2 separate regions of the Homo sapiens genome follow, and region 2 is linked to region 1. The links are contacts of gene promoters, found by promoter capture Hi-C in blood cells and fetal thymus (Javierre and others, 2016). All regions are on one chromosome and are shown on one strand. The core of a region is centred on a gene start or on the middle of the fragment in contact, and the rest is flanking DNA. Distances in the headings are between cores, read along the strand shown. Region 1 holds the start of NCBP3 (nuclear cap binding subunit 3). Region 2 overlaps ZZEF1 (zinc finger ZZ-type and EF-hand domain containing 1).

Region 1 (5,541 bases), core at 2,771-5,270:
AGTGACCAATTTCAATGAAAGAAATCACAGAAAAGGAACCCTTTAGAAGAGCCTGTTAATATCCTCCCTGCCCTCTAGCCTACTTCTCCTGAGAGTTGTGTACACTGGCTCAAATCTCCCCACTAATGTGCCTTCCCCTTCATGGACTCTGCTCTCCTCAAAGTCACCAATGGCCAGCAAACCTCTAGACCCAAAACAAGTTCCATCGTGAACTTATGGCAGAACATGACACTTGATCACTCCCTTCTTAAAACTCTCTCTCCAGTCTGTCCCAATGTCCCATTCCCCTGATTTTCTCTATTAATTAAAAATTTTTGCCGGGCGCAGTGGCTCACGCCTGTAATCCCAGCACTTTGGGATGCTGAGGCAGGTGAATCACAAGGTCAGGAGTTCAAGACCAACCTGGCCAAGATGGTGAAACCCCGTCTCTACTAAAAATACAGAAAGTCGCCAGGCATAGTGGCACGTGCCTGTAATCCCAGCTACTCGGGAGGCTGAGGCAGAGAACTGCTTAAAACCTGGGAGGGGGAGGTTGCAGTGAGCCAAGCTCGTGCCACTGCACTCCAGCCTTGGCAACAGAGTGAGACTCCCATCTAAAAAAAATATATATCCAGACTTTGGAAACAGAAAAAGGAAAATGCCCTGTTGGTACTGTGCCAGGTGTTATCTGCCTGGGGAACCATCTGATTCTCTACAGATGTATAGCTTTGTCTGACTTCTTATGCACTATTGATTAGGGTATTTTACAACTGAGAGTAGAGGTTTATAGAAAATTCATAACAGGTGGCTGGGTGCAGTGGCTCACGCCTGTAATCCCAGCACTTTGGGAGGCTGAAGCAGGTGGATCACAAGGTCAGGAGATCGAGACCAACCTGGCTAACACGGTGAAACCCCGTCTCTACTAAAAAAAATACAAAAAATTAGCTGGGCATGGTGGCAGGCGCCTGTAGTCCCAGTTACTCAGGAGGCTGAGGCAGGAGAATGGCGTGAACCCAGGAGGCGGAGGTTGCAGTGAGCCGAGATCGTGCCACTGCACTCCAGCCTGGGTGACAGAGCGAGACTCCATCTCAAAAAAAGAAAAAAAAAAAAGAAAAAAGAAAATTTGGCCGGGCGTGGTGGCTCACGCCTGTAATCCCAGCACTTTGGGAGGCCGAGGCGGGCAGATCACGAGGTCAGGAGATCGAGACCATCCTGGCTAACACGGTGAAACCCCGTCTCTACTAAAAATACAAAAAAGTAGCCGGGCGTGGTGGTGGGCACCTGTAGTCCCAGCTACTCGGGAGGCTGAGGCAGGAGAATGGCGTGAACCCGGGAGGCAGAGCTTGCAGTGAGCCGAGATCACACCACTGCACCCCAGCCTGGGTGACAGAGCGAGACTCCATCTCAAAAAAAGAAAAAAAAGAAAATTTATAACAAGTAAATAATTCTTGTCCAGTAGTAATGCAAATGTTTTCTGTCTGGTGGTAAAGGGAGTCCTGGAGGTTATCGTTTCTTGCCTTACAGGACATTAACTTGCCTTGTCAAATTCATCTCAGCATTCCTTTGACTGACCAACCACATATTCATTCAAGTTCCCCTTCAAACTATTCTTCATATTTCTACTGGTTTCCTCATTTTCTAATGACTGGGTAACAGCTTTGACATGTGTTCATTTTACATCTGTTTGAGAGTCATGTTTTTCAACTTTTTGAAAATCAGCCCTTACCACCTTCCTAAATTCTCTGTGTCTCCAACTCAGCAGGCTGCATCGCGAACAGGAAAGGGGATGGGAGATGGTGACTAAGGTGACCACAAAGAGCAAGGCACAGAGGGCTTTCCTGACACGCGCCTAGGAGCCTTGGTGTTTGCCTGATGTCCCGGCTTGTCCTGGACTCCTCATGTACCTGCCGGCTGGTGTGCCAGGGTGCTGGGGCTCTTCTGGATGGCACTGAACTGCAACACTGAATCCTCACCGAATTGCGTCCTCAAGCAACAAGGCATCCTCCCCAGCAGGGTGAGGGGCCTGCCCAGCCTTCTCTACTGGCCTCCTGGTGTCCATAGCTGAGGAGGGATTACTTCCTCCTCTCCCATCCCCTAACCCCACAGGCCTAGTAATGGTGGGGGCTGTGACTCTTACCTATAGCTGGCCACCCCAACTACACATTTTGTTTGAAATTAAACACACACACACACACACACCCGTACATATTCTATGTATGCATTCAACCCATTTTTTTTTTTTTTTTTTGGAGACGGAGTCTCGCTCTGTCGCCCAGGCTGGAGTGCAGTGGTATGATCTCGGCTCACTGCAACCTCCACCTCCCGGGTTCAAGTGATTCTCCTGCCTCAGCCTCCCAAGTAGTGCATGCCACCATGCCCGGCTAATTTTTTTTTTTTAGTAGAGACACGGTTTCACCATGTTAGCCAGGATGATCTCGATCTCCTGACCTCATGATCTGCCCGCCTTGGCCTCCCAAAGTGTTGGGATTACAGGCATGAGCCACCGTGCCCGGCCTCAACCCAATTTTTAAAAGTACTTTGTGTCCCATTCATCAAATAAAACTAGTCCTCTAAAGAGCTCTGTCTTGTGTTTATCCTGTGGTTTAGCCCAAATTTAAGAAAAACTGTGATGTACTGCACCCCTTCTGTTGGACCCTGTATCTACATATAAATTATCACATTTAACCCTCACAACCTCCTTTGTAGGTAGGTAATGGTCCATTTTACTGATGAAGGAACTGAGACTCCAAAGTGCTAAGCAGCTTGCCTAAGGTCACACATGGTGGATGGGGCCCGGCCAGCCAGCTCGAAACCCAGGTGTGTCTGATGCTGACCATGCTCTTCCTTGGTTTATCATTATTTGCTCCTCCATGGTCAGAGCTGGTAGGGCCTCAGGGCCTCAGAGACTGTAGGGTCTCACCTATGCCCTCCTCAGATGGGAAAACAGACCCAAAAACCTGTCCAAGGTTACCCAGGGAGGAAGATGCAAAATCAGGACTCAGGCCGGGCGCGGTGGCTCATGCCTGTAATCCCAAGACTTTGGGAGGCCGAGGCGGGTGGATCGCTTGAGGTTAGGAATTCGAGACCAGCTTAGTCAACATGGTGAAACCCTGTCTCTACAAAAAAAAAAAAAAAAAAGAAAGAAAGAAAGAAAGAGGAGAGGGAGGAAGGAAGGAAAAGAGAAAGAAAGAAAAGAAGAAAGAAAGGAAGGAAGAAAGGAATAAAGAAAGAAAGAAAGAAAGAAAAAGAAAATCAGGACTCAGAACAGCAGCTGATCAGTGACACCCTCGGGACGCGTAGACAACCCCTCTCCCCCACCAGGCTCTCGTTAGAAATATCCGCCGGAAACTATGCTCACAGGTCTACAGTGGATGGCACCCTCAGGAGTCAGGAAATCGGCGTCCAAGTTCTGGCCTTTGGGCAGGTCTCTCCCTCTTGGAGTCTCAATTTTTGTGTATGTAACATGGGCCAATTTTGGGGAGACTTTTAAGAGACAAAGACTGGCAAGGCAAGTAACTTTATAAACCTACAGATTGTCCAGAGGTGATATATCAAGGCTCATTGTAAACTCTGGAAGACTTAGATCCAGCTTTTATCCCTTAAATGGCGTCACCTTGGGTCAATTTCTATGCCTCAGTTTCCTCATATATGAAATGGGGGTCAAAATAGGATCTACTTCATAGAGTTGTTCTAAGGGTTCGAGCGCTTGGAAGTGTCTGGCCCATAGTGATCACTCAGGAAAGTTGGCTTTTAGTACAGCTTTAGCCTCAAGGCGTAGCTACATTGTAACCCTTGACTACCCCGGTCTCCTCCAAGCTCCGTAGTTCCCGCAGGCCCCGCCCCCGTCCCCGCTCAGTCCCGCCTTCTCCTCCCCAGGTCCCGCCCGCGCAGCCGGCCCGGTTTTCTCCCGCCACCAGGGGGCGGCGGCGCTAAGGGCGGCCTTCTGGGCCGAAGCCGGCGACGCTCTAGGTAGCTGCGGCGGCTCCTCTGTGGCCAGTGGCAGCGGCGCTCTAGCCGGCGGCCGTGAGGGGCGGGCTCTCAGTGGTGCGGCCGGCAGGCAGCGATGGCGGCCGTACGGGGCCTGCGGGTGTCGGTGAAGGCGGAGGCCCCGGCGGGGCCGGCCCTGGGGCTCCCGTCCCCTGAGGCGGAGTCCGGTGTTGACCGTGGCGAGCCGGAGCCCATGGAGGTGGAGGAGGGCGAGCTGGAAATCGTGCCTGTGCGGCGCTCGCTCAAGGAACTGATCCCGGTACGGGCGGGGGTCGGGGGGTAAGGAAGAGGTCGCGGGGCTAGTGTCTAGCGCCGGAGGGGGCCGGAAGGGGCGGTGGCCGGAGCCCCAGCCGGGGAAGTCAAGGGAGCGGGAGAGGAGGGAGCCAGCGTCCTGGGAACGGGAACGCCGGGCTGGAGGAGGGACGCGGAGCGGGAGAAAGGACGCCGGGGCGCCGGAAATGGGTGTTGAGGGGGCTGGGGGGTGGTGGCGGAGAGCTGGGAGGGAGTTGAGGACCCCCCTCCGCTGCCCCCTCTGAGCCGCGCTGTGCAAGGAGGTGAGTGAGGAGGGGCTGGAAGGATGAGATAAAGGGGGAGCCCTGGGCGGGAACAGAACCAGGGGCAGCCCAGAAGGAGCTGTTGGGTGGCGCCAGCAACCAGGTCTCCTTGTGGGTCTTGCCCCGGAGGAATTTGTATCTGGGAAACATGGCACTCGCTCTTTGTCTTGAGAGGGCTGCACTTGTCAGCAGCAGAAACTCACTGTTTCTGTCGTGACTTCGGGGTCATCTTGCCCCCCCCGCAGCTCCAGTGACACCTACACCGTGGCCCCAGCATCTGACTCTTAATGAAAGCAAACTAGCAGACGACCAATAGACATCCTTGGTCCCTCCTTTACCGCGCTGGGGATGGTGAGAGGTGTTTTGCTTGTGACTTGGTGGCTGTATATCCAGTTCTCAGAGCTGGTTTCAGGCCTGGATGACTCCTCTTAATTTCTCACCTAACATGAATTACTTTTGACCACATGTCAACATATTTAGACTGAAGTTATGGAGAAAGGTTAAAGTATGATCGCTAGAGATGGCAAACGTTATAATTATGATTAACAACAGCTAATATAGTAGCATTTACCATTCACTATATTGTGTCACTTAAATATACTGGCCGTGCACGCCTTTAGTGCCAGCTATTCAGGAGTCTAAGTTCCAGACCAGCCTCAGCAATATAGCAAGACCCCTTTGAGGTCCCCCCTTTCCCCTCTCCCCATCTCAAAAACAAAACCAAAATAAATAAATATTACTGCAGTTGTGAAGCAGGTGTTATCATCCCTTTAGTCATTCAGTTCAACATGGTTTTTGTTTTGTTTTGTTTTGAGACGGAGTTCGCTCTTGTTGCCCAGGCTGGAACGCAATGGCGCGATCTCGGCTCACCGCAACTTCCGCCTCCCGGGTTCAAGCCATTCTCCTGCCTCAGCCTCCTGAGTAGCCAAGTACAATGGCCTGATCTTGGCTCACCGCAACCTCCGCCTCCTGGGTTCAAGCTACTCTTCTGCCTCAGCCTCCCAAGTAGTTGAGATTACAG
Region 2 (6,055 bases), core at 1,331-3,830, 260 kb before region 1:
GTTTAAAAATGAAGCCAGATGTTGTGCTTAGGCACCTGTCCATTGCAGTGGCTGCCACTGACCAGAGCTACATGCCACAGCAGGTGACAGTAGCTGTAGGGAGGAATGCCAGCGATCTTCAGGAAGTCCGAGATGTGCACATCCCCAGCAATGTCACTGGCTATGTGACGCTGCTGGAAAATGCCAACGTCAGTCAGCTCTGTAAGTCCAACAGAACTGAGGGGATAGGGAAAAGCAAGGGAGTAGTATTTTTTACTTTGAAGTGAAGAGGCTGTTAGTTTTTGAGATTCGGTTTGCTTCTTAGGACGTACACAAAAGTGTTCATTATTTCATTCATTAAGTGTTGTAGAAATTATAGAAAAGCGTCGGGGCATGCTGGCTCACGCCTGTAATCCCAGCACTTTGGGAGGCCAAGGCAGGTGAATCACTTGAGATCAGGAGTTCGAAAACAGCCTGGCCAACATGGTGAAACCCTGTCTCTACTAAAAATACAAAAATTATCCAGGCGTGGGGGTGGGTACCTGTAATCCCAGCCACTTGGGGGGCTAAGGCAGAAGAATCACTTGAACCCAGGAAGCTATGGCTGCAGTGAGCTGAGATCACACCACTGCACTCCAGCCTGGGTGACAGAGCAAGACTCCATCTCAAACCAAAAAAAAGAAGGAAATTATAGAAGAACAGTGAAATCATTTTTTTCATTAAAAACAAAACAAAACATATATATATATATATATATATATATATATATATATATATATATATATATATATATATATTTAGACAGGATCTCTTTTTGTCACCCAGGCTGGAGTGCAGTGGTACAGTCATAGCTCACTGTAACCTCAGACTCCTGGGTTCAAGCAGTCTTCCTGCCTCAGTCTCAGTAGCTGGAATGTAGACATGCACCGCGATGCCTGGCTAATTTCTTTACACTTTTTTGTAGAAATGGGGCCTCACTGTGTTGCCCAGGTTGATCTCAAACTCCTGGCCTTTATGCTCCTACCTTGGCCTCCCAAAACGTTGGGATTATAAATATATATATATATATAAACATATATATAAAATATGTTTTTATATATGTTTATACATATTTATATATTGTGTATGCTTATATGTGTAATATATATGTTTTTTCTATATATTTTTTTTTTGAGACAGAGCCTCGCATTGTCGCCTGGGCTGGAGTGCAGTGGTGCAGTCTCAGCTCACTGCAACCTCCACCTCCGGGGTTCACGCAATTCTCCTGCCTTAGTCTCCCGAGTAGCTGCGATTACAGGCGCACACCACCATACCCACCTAATTTTCTGTATTTTTAGTAGAGACGGGGTTTCACTATGTTGGACAGACTGGTCTCGAACTACTGACCTCATGATCCGCCCGCCTCGGCCTTCCACAGTGCTGGGATTACAGGCATGAGTCACTGCACTGGCCCATTAAAAATAATTTTATTCACATTTTCATATTGGAAAATTAGAAAAATATAAACAAAAATACTCAAATCCTACTACCCAGGGATTGTTACTATGATTGCCTTGATGTGGATCCTTGCAGACCTTTCCGTGTGTGTGTGTATTTGTGTGTGTAAGTGTGTGTATGGTTTACATACACACACATATATGCACACATATCTACACACCTTTTTTCCTAAAAAATAGAGCTGTATGTATCTGTTCACATAAATCTATACATATCTTTTTACAAAAATGTTGATATTCTTTGCATGTTCTTTTGTAATTTTTTAGAGTGTGTTATATTCACGAATATCCTTATTTAGTGTTGTAAAAATATGCCGTAATTGGCTGGGTGCAGTGGCTCACACCTCCAATCCCAGCACTTTGGGAGGCTGAGGCATGCAGGTCACTTGAGGTCAGGAGTTCTAGACCAGCCTGGCCAACATGGTGAAACTCCGTCTCTACCAAATACAAAAATTAGCCGGGCGTGGTGGCGCATGCCTGTAATCCCAGCTACTTGGGAGGCTGAGGCAGGAGAATCACTTGAACCCAGGAGGCGGAGGTTGCAGTGAGCTGAGATTGTGCCACTGCACTCCTCCAGCCTGGGTGAACAGAGCAAGACTCCATCTCAAAAAAAAAAAAAAAAAAAGCCGTAATTTTAACCCACCCCTCATTCTTGGACATTTAGATTGTTTCCAATTTTATACCATTATAACCTTGCTTTAAACATAGCATTTTGGAAATAATCACAATTCTGTGATTGCTTTCTGGGCTTATTTCGTTCAGGGAGCCGGAATGCTTCATGTTTTATCTCATTTCTTCTAATGCTTTCCTGGGCCAAAAGAAGTGTTCTTTGCTCAAAGGAACTGAGGCCTAGGGAGGTAGAGTCTTTGTGTCTCACCCCTAGCAAATAAGTAGTTAGGCCTGTGGGTTAGAAGCTTCCTGTCTTATATTGTGATCTTTTCTCTAAGTTGTGTCCTTTTTAAATTCTTACCTTCTCTCCTCTGACCCAAATAAGAAATTGTGACATCTCTTAAAAGTGAGTCATGTCTGTGTCATCTGTTTGGATTTGATTATTAAAAATAAATTCTCACAATTGCTTGTAAGCCAGCCACTGTTCTATAACTTAATCCAAATTTCAGAATCCTAGGAAGAATTCTAGAAATGTTCTTACCATGTATTCAGACAGGCTTGTTTTAAAATGTTCTTTGTGTAGTTTTTTCAAGACTCCTAAGTTCCTAAGAAGTTTTGTTGTAAAGACTTAAATCACCCTTAATTTTACATATTATTCTTATGATTTCTTAGATTTGTCAAAGCTTTTTGACAAATTTATTATATACTAGTTCCATTGCACATGCTATTTATTTCTGTCATCAAAGTGTACCTTCAGAATTTTCTTTTCAAAATGTCTATTACTATTTTGCTTTTAGTTGGGAGCCCAGCATTTGCCTAAAGAAGTTAATCCAATACTGAATTTTTTGTTTGTGCTCGACAGATGTCCAGATTAACATAAAGCGTTGTCTTAGCGATGGCTGCGACACTAGAATTCATGGTCTCAGGGCTGTTGGCTTTCAGAGAGTTAAGAAGTCTGGGGTCTCAGTCTCAGATGCTTCTGCAATATGGTATTGGTCTCTGCTGACATCTCTGGTGACGGCTTCTATGGAGACAAATCCCGCCTTTGTCCAGACAGTGCTGCACAATACTCAGTAAGTCATTCTCTCTATGTTCCAGCCCCCTCAACATGCCCTCATTCTCCCATCATCCTTTAGGGCGTATCACTGAGCAGCCTTCCATCATTGATCGTTGTGGCTCAGTCAGCTCGGCCTCAGGTGCCCTAGTGTTTCCTGTTCGTGCCACTCAGCTCCACAGTGTATCTCTCTTTGATTGACGTTCTGACTTTACAGACTGAAAAAGTGCCCATTCCACCTTCCTGCTCCTCGTCACACAGTTCCTACAGTGTTCTTCATCAGCTCACTAAGTGGACCAGTCTTGTGAGGAGGTCACTTATGCTGTGCCTGTTCCTTGTCCATTGGGAAGTAATTGCTCATGTTTCTATAGGATTTGATGTTGGATAAAGCCCTTTCAGATGCAGTCTATTATTTTACCTACTGACACTGAAGTGTACCTGTGAAAATCACCCCATTTTATAGACGCAGATGTTGTGACCTTTCCTGAAGTCACAAGACCAGGCTGCAGTAATGGATCAGTTGAGGGCTCTTTCCACGAATGAGTGAAATCTTTTCAGGGTACTAAATTAATTTCTTTTGAAATGTAGAGTACTTTTGAAAAAAAATCATTAGGGCAAAAAGACCAAATAGTAACATATAAGACAAATACAACCAGCTATAGCAGCACTGAAATATTAGTATTGTGCAGATTCAGTAACTGATAATAGGTACCTATAGTGTAGGCGGTGAGAGTATCAGCCAAAAAGAGATTGCTAATATTTTGTTCTCTAGACATCTTTTGAGATTTGTTAGCACTATTGAGTAAAACTGTTAGCAAATAACACTGCTGCTCTGAAGGTTAATAGTTGGCCATACCTTGTTCTTTCTTCCTGTTGTAGCATGTATTCTCACTAAATTATTTCATACTTAGAGAAGCACTGCAAGTTTACATTTAACAAATAATTTTTATTTCTTCCTCAGTCATTAGAGAGTAATTTGCCTGCCTGTGCCCCATCGTTCCTGCTGCTTTAGTGTGTATTTCCTGTAAACAAGAACATTTACTGACAACCATTGAAATCAGGAAATCCACATTGGTGTACATTGCTATGTTGCCACCATCTCATCCTCAGACTCCCTGCAAGTTTTGCACGTTGCCCCAGTCACGCCCCTTACAGCAAAAGGATCCAGCGAAACACTCTGCATTTCTTTGTCCTTTCTCTTTAGTTTCCTTCATTCTGAAACAATTCCTCAGTATTTCCTTGACTTTCCTCAGTATTTCCTTGACCCTGATACTTTTGAAAATTACAGGTCAGTTATTTTGAAGAGTGTCCTTCAATTCTGGTTTATTTGATGTTTTATTGTGATCAGATTGAGGTTTTGTTATCTGTCTCTAGCAGGAATATCATAGAAGTGATGCTTTGTTCTCATTGCATCCCATTGGGTTGCACACAACTTCAGATAGTCCTCATTCTAATGCAGTCTTGTTAACTTTGATCACTTGATTAAAGTGGTTTTTGCCAGACTTTTCCATTGTAAAATAAATATTTTTCACTTCATAATTAATAAATACGTTGAAGGCGGTACTTTGAGACTATGTAAATATCGTATTCCTCATCAAAACTTTATGTTAGTGGATTCCTCTTTTATGCACTAGATTATAGTCAGCCACAGTTTTGATGCTTATGTTATCCTGGAGTTGGCTGGTGGCAACCCCTGCAGTCTGGCTTGTGTGTCCTTTTGACATGTCTCATTATTCTCGGAATGCTTCCATATGTTCTGACACAAGATATTCCAGGCTTATCTTGAATGTTCCCTGCATTAGTCCTGGAATCAGCCATTTTTCTGAATCAGGGGCTCTTTAGGTGGAGATCCACCCACCTCGGTCTCCCAAAGTGCAGAGATTACAGGCATGAGCCACCATGCCCAGCCTATTTCTTTATTTGTGACTGCCTTCTCTGATACTAAGAAACTTGCTTCCCATGATCCTTAATACATTTTTTGTACTTACTCAGTTCGCCTCTATGTAACCAGTGTCCCATTGCCCCTGCCCTTGCATGGACACCCTCCCTATCCCATTCCTGCTCCAGCATCTTTTGCAGAGCTGCTGCTGTGGCCATCCTTGCACAGATGCCCTTCTTATCTTCCTCGAGTTCCTATACCCTGTGCCAGGCCACCCTTCTTGCCTCACTTGGTGCCTGCATTCCATATCAGGCCGTACCTTTGTGAAGACACCTTTCTCACCCTGCTCAGGCTCTAAAACCTCACTGTAGGCCACCATGACGACTCCCCCTTACTCCCCAGACACATACAAATGTCTGCACTGCACAGTCCCATCTTGTGGACTGGATTTTCAGGAAAAGGAAGAGGTTTCTATATTTTTTTTGAAGATGTGGCAAGTGGTTGAAGAATGGACAGATTTTAAAGTCTGTGTCCCTGCTCAGTTTTACTAGTTCATCTGCAATGATATTTTCATGCACTCCTGCCTTTTTAAGATTAGTGATCTAAATCTATTTTAAAATTAAAGATTTATTGAAAAAATATCAATGAGGAAAAATAGGTAAGGAAAAGAATATTTTGGGACAGAAGTGTTGCCTGTATCAGTGGAAATAAATTCAGTAAATGATCGCATGCTACTTGTGTGCATTAAACCTCACTGATCAGCTGCATCTGTGTGTAGCTGCCATGTTTGTGCAACCCCAAAATGGCTCATTGTGTAGACAGGAACAGAACTAGGGCAGAGTGCGAGCTGACAGTGTTTGCTTTGCTTTATTGTCTCTATTTTGAAATGTAGAAATGAAATTGTTTCAGGGATTTTCATTACCATTATCATTAAGCGACTATCAGTTGTAGAATTTTGAGTTACTTTTGATACATTCACAGAATACCTTGAAATTTTTCATGGTACATTCAGTCACCTAGCACAGTTGCTGGCACACA

What was found. The method cuts DNA at HindIII sites, captures the fragments that hold promoters and counts their contacts. A CHiCAGO score of 5 or more calls a contact.
Region 2: a contact is called between a fragment that was not itself captured here and the fragment with the promoter of NCBP3 in region 1, in 1 of 17 cell types (erythroblasts). The highest score is 5.3, in erythroblasts.

The regions. Positions count from the first base shown.
Region 1 is chr17:3,844,725-3,850,265 of GRCh38, reverse strand. It overlaps NCBP3 (nuclear cap binding subunit 3), which reads left to right and starts at 4,020. Exons shown (of 13, transcript NM_001114118.3): 1 at 4,020-4,225. The coding sequence starts at 4,043. RefSeq lists silencers at 3,732-3,851, 4,032-4,321. The HindIII fragment of the contact is 12,990 bases long and covers 1-5,541 here.
Region 2 is chr17:4,106,755-4,112,809 of GRCh38, reverse strand. ZZEF1 (zinc finger ZZ-type and EF-hand domain containing 1) reads left to right here. Exons shown (of 55, transcript NM_015113.4): 5 at 2-201; 6 at 2,947-3,157. Among named protein-coding and RNA genes, the nearest start is that of ZZEF1, 33 kb to the left of the region's middle. The HindIII fragment of the contact is 378 bases long and covers 2,392-2,769 here.